Regions from separate parts of the Homo sapiens genome. Here all the other regions are linked to region 3. The links are contacts of gene promoters, found by promoter capture Hi-C in human tissues and cell types (Jung and others, 2019). All regions are on one chromosome and are shown on one strand. The core of a region is centred on a gene start or on the middle of the fragment in contact, and the rest is flanking DNA. Distances in the headings are between cores, read along the strand shown. Region 1 overlaps PPM1E (protein phosphatase, Mg2+/Mn2+ dependent 1E). Region 2 overlaps RAD51C (RAD51 paralog C). Region 3 holds the start of PPM1E (protein phosphatase, Mg2+/Mn2+ dependent 1E).

Region 1 (3,774 bases), core at 816-3,315, 35 kb after region 3:
TATGCCCTTGACAGAAGAGTCACTTCAGTCTGCTACAACGGTACTCTTTCACTACGGGTATAGTTTCACATACTATTGTGAGGGAAGAAGGTACATTTACTTAGCAGAAGCCATCCATTTTATGAAATGCCAATTCCCTGAATTTACTTCTTTTAAACTAGTTTTAGTTGATCAGTTTTCATCTTCTTGGTAACATTTAAAAGAATGTTCAATTTGTTTCTGCTCCAATTATCTGCTGCTGTTTAGGAGGAGGTGGACAGAAAAGAATTTCTCATATTCAAGGATATAATAGCAATGAACGTATTTTTTGTCAGTGCAGAATTTAAAGACTAAGACTTTAAGTCTGATCCTCTTCCTTTTTCTGCCGCCTCAGTCTCTGGCAACAATAGCAGGGAGTTAGGGCAGACAAATTGAACATTCCTTTTCATGCTTTATACAGATTGAAACTGATCAACTAAAGAGTTAAAGAAGTGAATTCAGTGACTTGACCTTTACTTGAAATGATTTTTAATAATTTTAGTCAGTGATCCAGAACTCACCTAAGCAGCCAGATTAGCTGAGTTAATCCTAATAATGAATTGACAGATGCTTCAGTTACACTGCCTTCAGATCCTCAAAATTGAGAATATTCATAATGGCATATCACAAAATGGACTATCAAGCCTAATACATAAAATGTACATCTGTTTTGGACTGAAAGATTGACTAATAAAAGCAATTAAGTGATCTTTTCTCTAGAAGTTTGTTTATACTGACTTCTACACCTCCAGCTCTACACTGTTACCAGAGCTCAAGCCCGTAATTCTAAGAACATAAGAAACATTTTACTTTTCATTTCAGTATATCCAATAAAGATTCTGCCTTGTTCCACATCAAATAGCACCTCTTTAGGTTTCTTCAGGCTCATACCTCATTCTTTTCCATCCCACCCCTATTTAGTTATTCATCTATTTCTGTCACTTTTTCCTTTGAAACATGTCTCAGATTTAGTCTTCATTCTTGCTGCGGCCACCCCAGTTCAGTCTTCATTACTCATTGCCTTCTAACTTTATTTTTCTGATTACATTCTTCTTTCTAGTAGTAGGTTAAATTTACACTGCTTTCATCATGTGTCTCCGTGAGGTAATCCCAGGAGCTCTGCAAAATTCACTAGCTAATCTCTGACTTAACATAGGATGTAGTATCAGAAGAATCAGCTATGATCCACTAGTGCTTTTCTTGCTCACTTGACAGCTGCCTGCTATTTGAACAAAAGGCATCTTTATTTTCATTCTTTCTTAGATGACTCTCCGATGTGATCCTTTGCACATATATATGGATCACATCTGAGAGTCATTTATATATATATATATATATATAAAATGCAAATACCTGCCTATTATTACCTTTTGATGTGACACACAAGAACACTGTTGCCTGTGTCAGACATTCAGCAAGCATTATAGTTTAGTCCCATAATCTCATTTTATCAAGAAGCCTAATTTTGTAGGCTTTGGTTGTCTCATTCTGCCACCAGAAAGTAAATTTCTTGAAGGCAGGCACTATAGAATTTTCATTCTAGCACAATTTTTGACAGTTTTTATGCATTTTTGAAATTTTTATTGAATAAATAAGTTAGTTGAGCAAATATTTATTGCATTTATTGAGGGCTTACTCTGTTCCAGCAACTGTGATGATGTAAGCAGCACTGAAAAGGAGCAGATATGGTTCCTTAGCGTGATCATAGTTCATTACAGCTTCAAACTCCTGGGCTCAAGGGATCCTTCTGCCTCAGCCTCCTGAGTAGCTAGGACTACAGGTGTATGCCACCATGCCTAGCTAATTAAAATTTTTTTTTTTTTGGATAGCCAGGGTCTTACCATGTTGCCCAGGCTGATCTGGAACTTCTGGCCTCAAGCAATCCACCCACTGTGGCCTTTCAAAACTGGTGACATGAGCCACTGTGCCCAGCGCGGCTCTTGTCTTGAGTTTATGATCTAGTGAGAAAGGCAGGTATTAAACAAATACATGGCCAGTTATGATGGTCTATAATGGACATCATCAGTTCCTTCTCTTTGTGTATATGCATGCTATTTTTCATGTCTAGAAATAGAGTCTAATTCCCCTCTCCTTGAATCTGGGCTGGTCAATAGAATGTGGCAGAAATAAACATTTTGGAACTTTGAGGCTAGACCTTAAGGCTGTAAAGCTTGTGTCTGGGTCTCTGGAAATATTTTTCTTGAGATAATCCCTCTTAAAACCCAGTCACTCTGTTGCAAGAAGCTCAAGCCACATGGAGAGGCCTTGTGTAGGTAACGCTGATCAATAGCCCCAGCTGAACTTCAATGGCCAGAATCAACTGGTCCTGTGAGTGACCCATTGTGAACATCCAGTCCAGTCCAGCCTTTAGATGACTTCATGCCCCCTACTGTCTTACTGCATTCATGTGTGAGAAGATCGAGAACTACAGATCTGAGCTTTGTCAATCCACAAAATCTTGAGAGATAATAAATTTTTTTTTTTTTGAGATGGAGTCTCACTCTGTTGCCCAGGCTGGAGTACAGTGGCACCACCACAGCTCACTGCAACCTCCACCTCCTGGGCTCAAGTGATTCTCCTGCCTCAGCCTCCGGAGTAACTGGGACTACAGGTGCCCGCCACCCTGCCCGGCTAATTTTTTTGTATTTTTAGTAGAGATGGGGTTTCACCATGTTGGCCAGGCTGGTCTTGAACTCCTGACCTCAAGTGATCCACCCACCTCAGCCTCCCAAAGTGCAGGGATTACAGGTGTGAGCCACCGTGCCTGGCCTGAGAATGAATTGTTTTAAGCCACTAAATTTGAGTGGTTTATTATGCAGCAGTATAATACATTTTGGTTATCTAACCAGAATGTAAATTATCAGATTATCAGATTATGATAAATGCTATAATGGACATGAACAGGAATAAAAGGAAAACCTAATTTAGATGATTCGGAGATGGCAACATACAATTGTTTAATAATGTTTTGTCTTTCTGCTCAACTCTGCATTTGGTGAGAGCAGATACTGTCCTATTTTTAACTGTGTCCCCAGCACGTGGCATATATGCTCAATATCTTCTGAAGTAATAACGAAGACCTTTTATTAGTGTCTCAGAGAAGTCCGTAACTCCAAAAAGGTTAAGAATTACTTTATTAACAGCAAAACTTTCCTCTTTATCCACTTGTATAGGAATACCACATCCTACCCAAGCACAAAATTCCAGGTTTTCTGGACTGAATACCTACACCCAGGATCGATGTGAATAGGGCAGTATTTTCCTGCCAGAGGTTATAGGTGATGCCTTTGAGTTTTGGGGATTTAATCATAATGGGCTACATCACATGTATGGAGGTTACGCAGGTAATGAGAGGGACTGGGGCCAAGGAGCACACAGATGAGTCTACTTAATGGAAGAAAACTAAGCCTCAGATGAAGTCTGTTATTCTATAAATAGCCTCTGTATTCCTTAACCCTTTTTCCTGTTATTCCTTCCATGAACTTTCTGCTTAATTTCTTTCATTTTAATGTGTTTCAGGGACTGATTCTCCTCTAAGGTTGCACCTAACACTTTTCTTCCTTGCCCATTTCTTCCCTATACACCATTCTTATTCCCATCTTTGTGTCTTTCTTATTATGTGTTTCTCCCATTTTCTAGGGTATTTTTCCTTCTTTCTGCTTATGTAAATTTAATCTTTTGGGAGTATTTTAAGTTTACTTCACTGGAACTTTCCTTGAAGATTCCAAGTTAAATATGCCTCTCCTTCCTGAGCTT
Region 2 (3,641 bases), core at 239-2,738, 44 kb before region 3:
CCCTCGCCAACATGGTGAAACCCTGTCTCTACTAAAAAAAAAAAAAAAAAAAAAAAACCAAAAATTAGCCCGGTGTGGTGGCATGCCCCTGTAATCCCACCTACTCGGGAGGCTGAGGTAGGAGAATCACTTGAACCCAGGAGGCGGAGGTTACAGTGGGTGGAGAACGCGCCATCACACTCCAGCCTGGGCAGCAGCAAGACTCCGTCTCAAGGCAAAAAAAAAAAAAAAGGACTTTGTTTGATAAAGAAATGCCACCTTTGTTAATTGCAGTGTCTTCTTTGTTTAAATATACTTTGGATGTTTTTCAGGTTAACTCTTCCAACATCCCTGGTTTTCTTCTCCTTTGAGTCTTTGATTATTATGTGGTATGTAATCACAGATTCAGATGGATTGAAACATAACCGGTGTAAACAACCTAGATGCTTTGAGGTAGAGCTAAATAACTCTTGAAGATTTGAAATGTGAGGAGAGAAGTAAATATCGGCTCAGAAGGGAAGAGATTTTTTTTTTTAAAGTTTTACCTCACTCCTCTTTAACTGCTTGTTTGCCATTACTTCCCACCCTGAATCCACATCCCACCACTGACACAAATACACACATTTGTCTGGGAGTAAGATGTAAGGTCAAACTGCTTAACTTGATTTCTTTGTCTTTACCTTAATTAGAGAGACCTTAGCACATACCTGTAATACATCATAAGTAAATAAAGAACTTCCTCAGTAAAGTCATTTTAAAGCATACTTTTTTCTTTGAATTTCCAATTTTTTTTGCCATATGCTGAAAAGCATAGTGCCCTGTGTTTGAATTACTTTTTGCTTAAATTAATTGTAATTTAGCCTTTTGTTAATATCAGTGAAGAGCCTCCAGTAGGGGGCACTCAAGACTAATAGGTTGCATAGTTCCTTATGTTTTTAACAGAAATAGCTTCACCTTTTCCGACTAAAAAAGCAATCCAAACAATAACATCAAATAGTAGGTAGTGTTTAAGAAGAGTGATGTAAATATAAACGTCCTAACATGGAAGAAGATATATACATATATGTTATTGAGTGAAGAAATTTAAGTTGTATATAAAATATATTTAATGTTACCTCAGTTTAGAGAAAACTTATAATTATATGTATGCATTTATATTTGTATATATGAAGAGAAAGATCTGAAAGGACCAAAACATTAACAGTGGCTACTTCTTTTTTATTTTTTTGGAGACAGAATCTTACTGAAGTGCAGTGGTACAATCAGGGCTCGCCACAGCCTCGACATCTCGGGCTCAAGTGATCCTGCCACCTCAGCCTCCCTAGTAGCTGAGACTAGAGGCACATGCCACCATGCCCGGCTAATTTTTGTATTTTTTTTTTTGTAGAGATGGGGTTTCACCATGTTGCCCAGCTGGTCAGAAGGCGGAGGTTGGGCTCAAGCGATCATCTGCCGGCCTCAGCCTCCTAAAGTACTAGGATTACATGCATAAGCCACTGTGCCCAGACTTGGCTTCTTCAAAGGATGGGATTTTGTAGGGTTAGGGACACACTTTCCCTCTCTTACTTTATAATTTCTTTGCTTGAAGGTTTTTTTTCCCAATTAACATATATATAACATGTATGGCTTTTGATAATGTATTTTATAATTTTAAGGCCAGATGTGGTAACTCACACCTGTAATCCCAGCACTTTTGGAAGGCCAAAGTGGGAGGACCGCCTGAAGCCAGGAGTTTGAGACCAGCCTGAACAACAAAGCTTGACCCCATCTCTAAAAAAAAAAATACATAAAATAAGAATAATTGGCCGGGCACGGCGGCTCACATCTGTAATGCCAGCACTTTGGGAGACTGAGGTGGGCGGATCATGAGGTCAGGAGTTCGAGACCAGCCTGACCAACATGGTGAAACCCCATCTCTACTAAAAATACAAAAAATAGTCAGGCGTGGTGGCATGCCTGTAATCCCAGCTACTCAGGAGGCTGAGGCAGGGGAATCATTTGAACCCAGAAGGCGGAGGTTGCAGTGAGCCAAGATTGCGCCACTGCACTCCATCCTGGGCGAGAGAGCAACACTCCATCTCAAAAAAAAAAAAAAAAAAAAAGAAATTTTAAGTTATGTATGCTTTTTGTAAAAGAAAAAAAAAGTTCTAAACAATAAAAAATGTAGGAAGCGATTATTCATTACTCAGAGATTGTGTAAATATTGTTGTCTGGTGTAAATATTTTTGCAGACTTCATGCATATACAAACTTACGTTTTAGAAAATGAGGTCATAGGCCAGGTGTGGTGGCTCACGCCTGTAATCCCAGCACTTTGGGAGGCCAAGGCGGGCAGATCACGAGGTCAGGAGATCGAGACCATCCTGGCTAACACGGTGAAACCCCATCTCTACTAAAAATACAAAAAAGTAGCTAGGCTTGATGGCGGGCGCCTGTAATTTCAGCTACTCGGGAGGCTGAGGCAGGAGAATGGCATGAACCCGGGAGGCGGAGCTTGCAGTGAGCTGAGATACGCCACTGCACTCCAGCCTGGGCGACAGAGCAAGACTCCGTCTCAAAAAAAAAAGAAAATGAGGTCATGCCACCGCAGTGGCTCACGCCTGTAATCCCAGCACTTTGGGAGGCCAAGGTGGGAGGATCACTTGAGCCCATGAGTTTGAGACCAGCCTGGGAAATATAGTGAGACTTCATCGCTACAAATTTTTAAAAAAATCTTAGCCAAGCATAGTGGCATGCACCTATAGTTCTAGCTACTTAAGCGGCTGAGGTGGGAGTATTGCTTGAGGCTGGGAGGCAAAGGTTGCAGTGAGCTGAGATCGCACCACTGCACTCCAGCCTAGGCAGCAGAGCAAGACCCTGTCTTCAAAAACACAAAAAGAAATGAAAATGAGGTCATATTATACATGCTATTATGCAAAGCAGTTTTCTGTTTTTCACTTAATATATTGTGAACATCTTTCCATGTATACTACTTTTTTTTTCCATGTACACTACTTATAAGTCTGCTTTACACTAACAGCTGCATAGTATTTTGCTGTATGACTGTAGCATAGGTTTTTTTTGTATTTGTATTTGTTTTTGGGTTTTCTTTTTTATGAGACAGGGTCTCGCTCTGTCATCCAGGCTAGAGTGCAGTGGCATGATCTTGGTTCACTGTAGCCTCAATCTCCTGGGCTTAAGCAATCCTTTCACCTCAGCCTCTTGAGTAACTGAGACCACAGGCACACACCACCACACCCAGCCAATTTTTAAATTTTTTGTAGAGGCTGGGCACGGTGGCTCACACCTATAACCCACCACTGTGGGAGGCCAGGGCAAGCAGATCACTTGAGGTCAGGAGTTCAAGACCAGCCTTGCCAACATGGTGAAACCTTGTCTCTACTAATAATACAAAAATTAGCCAGGTGTGTTGGTGCTCACCTGTAGTCCTAGCTACTTGGGAGGCTGAGGCAGGAGAATCACTTGAACTCGGGAGGTGGAGGTTGCAGTGAGCCAAGATCACACTGTTGCACTCCAGCCTGGGAGACACAGTGAGACTCTAGCTCCAAAATAAATAAATAAATAAGTTTTTTGTAGAGATGAGGTCTCACTATGTTGCCTAGGCTGTTCTTGAACTCCTGGGCTTAAGGGATCCATCTGCTTCAGCCTTCCATAGGCATGAGC
Region 3 (3,849 bases), core at 210-2,709:
TTGAACCCAGGAGGCAGAGGTTGCAGTGAGCCGAGATCCTGCCATTGCACTACAGCCTGGGCAACAAGAGCAAAACTCCGTCTCAAAAAAAAAAGAAAGAGAAAAGAAAAAATACATATTATATAATGAAGTATAATATGCATTATGCAGAGACTAAAGAGGGGAGTCTTGGTTGCCTGAAAACTAATGGGTAAAATCCATTGAAGTGGGTGAATCCAGTGAAAAGACCTGGATTGAGTCCTTGTTGCATCCCTTGCATGTGACCTTGAGCAAAGTCACCATGTCTTTAAGGCTGTTTTCTCACCTATAAAATGGAATAATTGGCCGGCGTGGTGGGTCACACCTGTAATCCCAGCACTTTGGGAGGCTGAGGCAGGCAGATCACCTGAGGTCAGGAGTTTGAGACCAGCCTGGCCAATATGGTGAAACCCCGTCTCTACTAAAAATACAAAAGTTAGCCGGGGGTGGTGGCAGGCCCCTGTAATCCCAGCTACTTGGGAGGCTGACGCAGGAGAATCACTTGAACCCGAGAGGCGGAGGTTGCAGTGAGCTGAGATCGCGCCACTGCACTCCAGCCTGGGTGACAAGAGCGAGATTGTCTCAAAAAAAAAAAAATCATAACGGTAACGTCCTATACCTCAAGGGACTGTGGTAAGAATTAAAAGGGTGAAATCAATGTGTAAACTATGAAGCCCAATAGAAATAAGGTGTTATACAGACAATTGCACTATTGAATCTCCGGAGACAGAGTTGAGTTAAGGAAAAATGCACTTTCGGAAAGCTTTGGCGACTGAACGACCTGAGTTCTCCAACGCCAAGGCTGGAAGTTTGGAGACCTTGAAACAAGTAAATTACCATTAATATCATAATTTTCAGTTTCCTTTTAAGAAATGAGAGTAACACCACTTTCTTCACAGAATCAAGTGAGAGAGAACCTATGCAAAGGAACTTATCACTTGGTAGGTATTTGAAGCTCCCTCTGCCTGAAAACTACTTATTCAAAGACTGCAACAAAAGGTGTTCACAGTGTGGTATCTTTCAAAACATACGCTAAGGCAAGGAACAGATAAGGAAATGGAAGTACATCCAATTGGGATCCAAGCAACCCAAGTGGGAACCAACAGCTAGACTTGGAGATGTCTTAGCTCACTCTTAACCACGTGAGGGTAGGGTATCCAACCAATAAAGACATTCAGAGTTGGAGAGCGGGCGAGTGGAGTGTCCTTTAGACTCCGCGGACTCGACGGGAGGGACCCTGCAATGCTTAATTAGAACCGGTTGCCATGGCGACAGTCTCTAGGCAGCGTGGGCTGAGCTCTCCGTAGGAATAAAGGGTGGGCCGCCGCTGGACCCTGCGCGCGCCCGCCACCAACTTTCCCTCCAGATCCGAGAGGGGCGGCGCGCTCCGCCCCCGGGCCGCGCACGTCGGTGCTCGGCGGCGCGCACGCCTGCGGGAGCCCTCTCCAGGCAACCTAGTGCTGATCGCTCGTGCCGGTGCGGCCGTTAACCGCCCTTGCCGGAGCCCTAGGCTCAAAAGCAGCCCCTTACCCTTCCTGGGCTTCCCCCAACCCCTTTCCCGGTCTGCCCTGGGGCATGAGCAGCGATGGCCGGCTGCATCCCTGAGGAGAAAACTTACCGGCGCTTCCTGGAGCTATTCCTGGGCGAGTTTCGCGGACCGTGCGGCGGCGGCGAGCCGGAGCCGGAACCCGAACCCGAACCCGAACCCGAACCCGAGTCCGAGCCCGAGCCCGAACCTGAACTGGTAGAAGCTGAGGCGGCCGAGGCTTCGGTAGAGGAACCCGGGGAGGAGGCGGCCACGGTAGCCGCGACGGAGGAGGGGGACCAGGAGCAAGACCCGGAGCCCGAGGAGGAGGCGGCGGTTGAGGGTGAGGAGGAGGAGGAGGGCGCGGCGACGGCGGCGGCAGCCCCGGGGCACTCGGCCGTGCCGCCGCCGCCGCCCCAGCTGCCGCCTTTGCCCCCGCTCCCGCGACCGCTGTCAGAGCGCATCACCCGCGAGGAGGTGGAGGGCGAAAGCCTGGACCTGTGCCTGCAGCAGCTCTACAAATAGTTAAGTAGCTGGGCTTGGCTGGTGGTGGGCCCGCGGTCCCCACCGCGCCGGCCTCGGACGCGGCTCCCTCGGCCCCTCAAACTGCTCTCTTTTCTGCTCCTCTCCCCCGCACCCGCGCCTGCCGCCGCTGAAAGCGCCCCCGCTGCTCGGACCCGGGCGGTCGGCTGAGAGCTGCCCACGCCCGCCTCGGCCCCCACGCCCGCCTCGGCCCCCACGCCTCCTACCCGGCCTTGAAGCCGCTCTCCTGAGCCCCGGCGCCCTCCCGCCGGGCCCGGGCCCCTCATCCCCTTTCACCTCGGCCCCCAGCTTCTAGCTCCACTTCACGCAACCTTTCCCTTTCCTGCCTGGAAAGGTCCTTCCTCCCAGGCTTGAGCTCCCTCTTCTTCCCAGATCCCTTCTTTCTCCGGGAGGTTTCCTCCCACCCCAGTCTGTCTTTTCCCGGGCTGAGTGCCTTGTTGTTTGGCGGCAGAGACGCGACTCCTTTCTAGACTGAGCTGCGAGGTGCCTCCTGCGTAACTGCAACAATGATGGTTATACCGGCCCCGTATCCAGATGAGAGAATGGAGTAGATTTTCCGTCAGGTGCTCAGTGTTGAAAGTGAAGGGCTTTTTAGATGTTTTCACACAGGGAAGCCTAGTCTCTTAGTTTAGACATTTGACATTCCATAATTGAGGGAAGTGGGAAGGAATTGAGAGGGAAGGGTAAGCAAAATTTTGCAAGCAAGCCTTCGGGTGAAAGAGCCATAATTCATTAAAGTGGAAAAGTCAGGCTGTTTTGATTAAATTGCAATTAGGTGCAGTATTTTCAGTCCATTAAGTAGATGGGATGGGGTGGGGAGAAAGCAGATGGCTTAGCTACACAGATGAAAGTCTAAAATAGAAAGGTCAAGGCTTTGCCTTTCATCCCAGTTCTGGTTTTTATAGGCCTGAAATAGAAACGGTTTACAATTGCGTTTCTCAATGGAATTGTTCCGAAATAATGACAGAGGAGAATACTAGTAAGTCTCTGAAAACATTGGTAAACCTGGGAAGTCTTTTGCCATTCAGCTGATAGTTGTAATGAAAGGTGTTACTCTGGCCACCCAAAAAGTTTACTACTGCAAGATTCGCTGTAATTAAGTTCAAACTCACTTTTGGGATTTTCTCAAAAGCCTAAAGAAAAGAAGGGCCTGGAAAGTAAACCTGTTTTGTCTTCATCCAAGCTAATAGACACCTGATCAGATCATTCTCCTGTTAAAGCAGCAGTTTATCAATAGGGGAAAATCATTTAACAAATCTTCCATAGAAGTGGACTGTGTTGGTATTTCATAATATAAGCTATCTAAAATTTAATTTTAAAATACTGTTCAATTACAGTATTACCGTCAATTAGCAAGGTAATGATGCTTTTTGAGAAACGTAAAATATAAAATGGCGTGTAATACCACCACCCAGAGATAAACAGTATTAACATTTTAGAGTATATCTGGTCTTTGTGAACTATCATAGACAAGGGCTTCTGAGATGTAATTTTTTACAGTATTTAAAGATAAAGCTCCCTGCTTAAAATAAAATGGAAATGTTTATTAAGGGAATTTATCTTAGCAGCAGACTGGCTCTATCTTGACAGTTAATTCTTACCTTTACAAATGCAGTTTGCAGAATTAAACCAATTCAAACTTTAGAAAGTGTCCAAATAAGGTCATTATTTTAGTACAACCCTGAACATTTGCCATGTAAGAAGGTTTTTTTTTTTTAACTTATTTAAAGATGATGGCAAGAAGATGTGTGTTTTTTCATATA

What was found. The method cuts DNA at HindIII sites, captures the fragments that hold promoters and counts their contacts. A contact is called where the count stands out against the background at its distance.
Region 1: a fragment that was not itself captured here is called in contact with the fragment with the promoter of PPM1E in region 3 in 1 of the 25 tissues and cell types used here (adrenal gland).
Region 2: a contact is called between a fragment that was not itself captured here and the fragment with the promoter of PPM1E in region 3, in 1 of the 25 tissues and cell types used here (pancreas).

Annotation. Positions count from the first base shown.
Region 1 is chr17:58,788,404-58,792,177 of GRCh38, forward strand. All of the region lies in intron 1 of PPM1E (protein phosphatase, Mg2+/Mn2+ dependent 1E), which reads left to right. Among named protein-coding and RNA genes, the nearest start is that of PPM1E, 34 kb to the left of the region's middle. The HindIII fragment of the contact is 7,145 bases long and covers 1-3,774 here.
Region 2 is chr17:58,710,285-58,713,925 of GRCh38, forward strand. The region is part of intron 5 of RAD51C (RAD51 paralog C); the gene reads left to right. Among named protein-coding and RNA genes, the nearest start is that of RAD51C, 20 kb to the left of the region's middle. The HindIII fragment of the contact is 4,613 bases long and covers 1-3,641 here.
Region 3 is chr17:58,754,395-58,758,243 of GRCh38, forward strand. It overlaps PPM1E (protein phosphatase, Mg2+/Mn2+ dependent 1E), which reads left to right and starts at 1,460. Exons shown (of 7, transcript NM_014906.5): 1 at 1,460-2,067. The coding sequence starts at 1,604. LOC105371843 (a long non-coding RNA gene) reads right to left here and starts at 1,716. Exons shown (of 3, transcript XR_007065866.1): 1 at 1,637-1,716. RefSeq lists silencers at 1,279-1,468, 1,468-1,616. The HindIII fragment of the contact is 13,854 bases long and covers 1-3,849 here.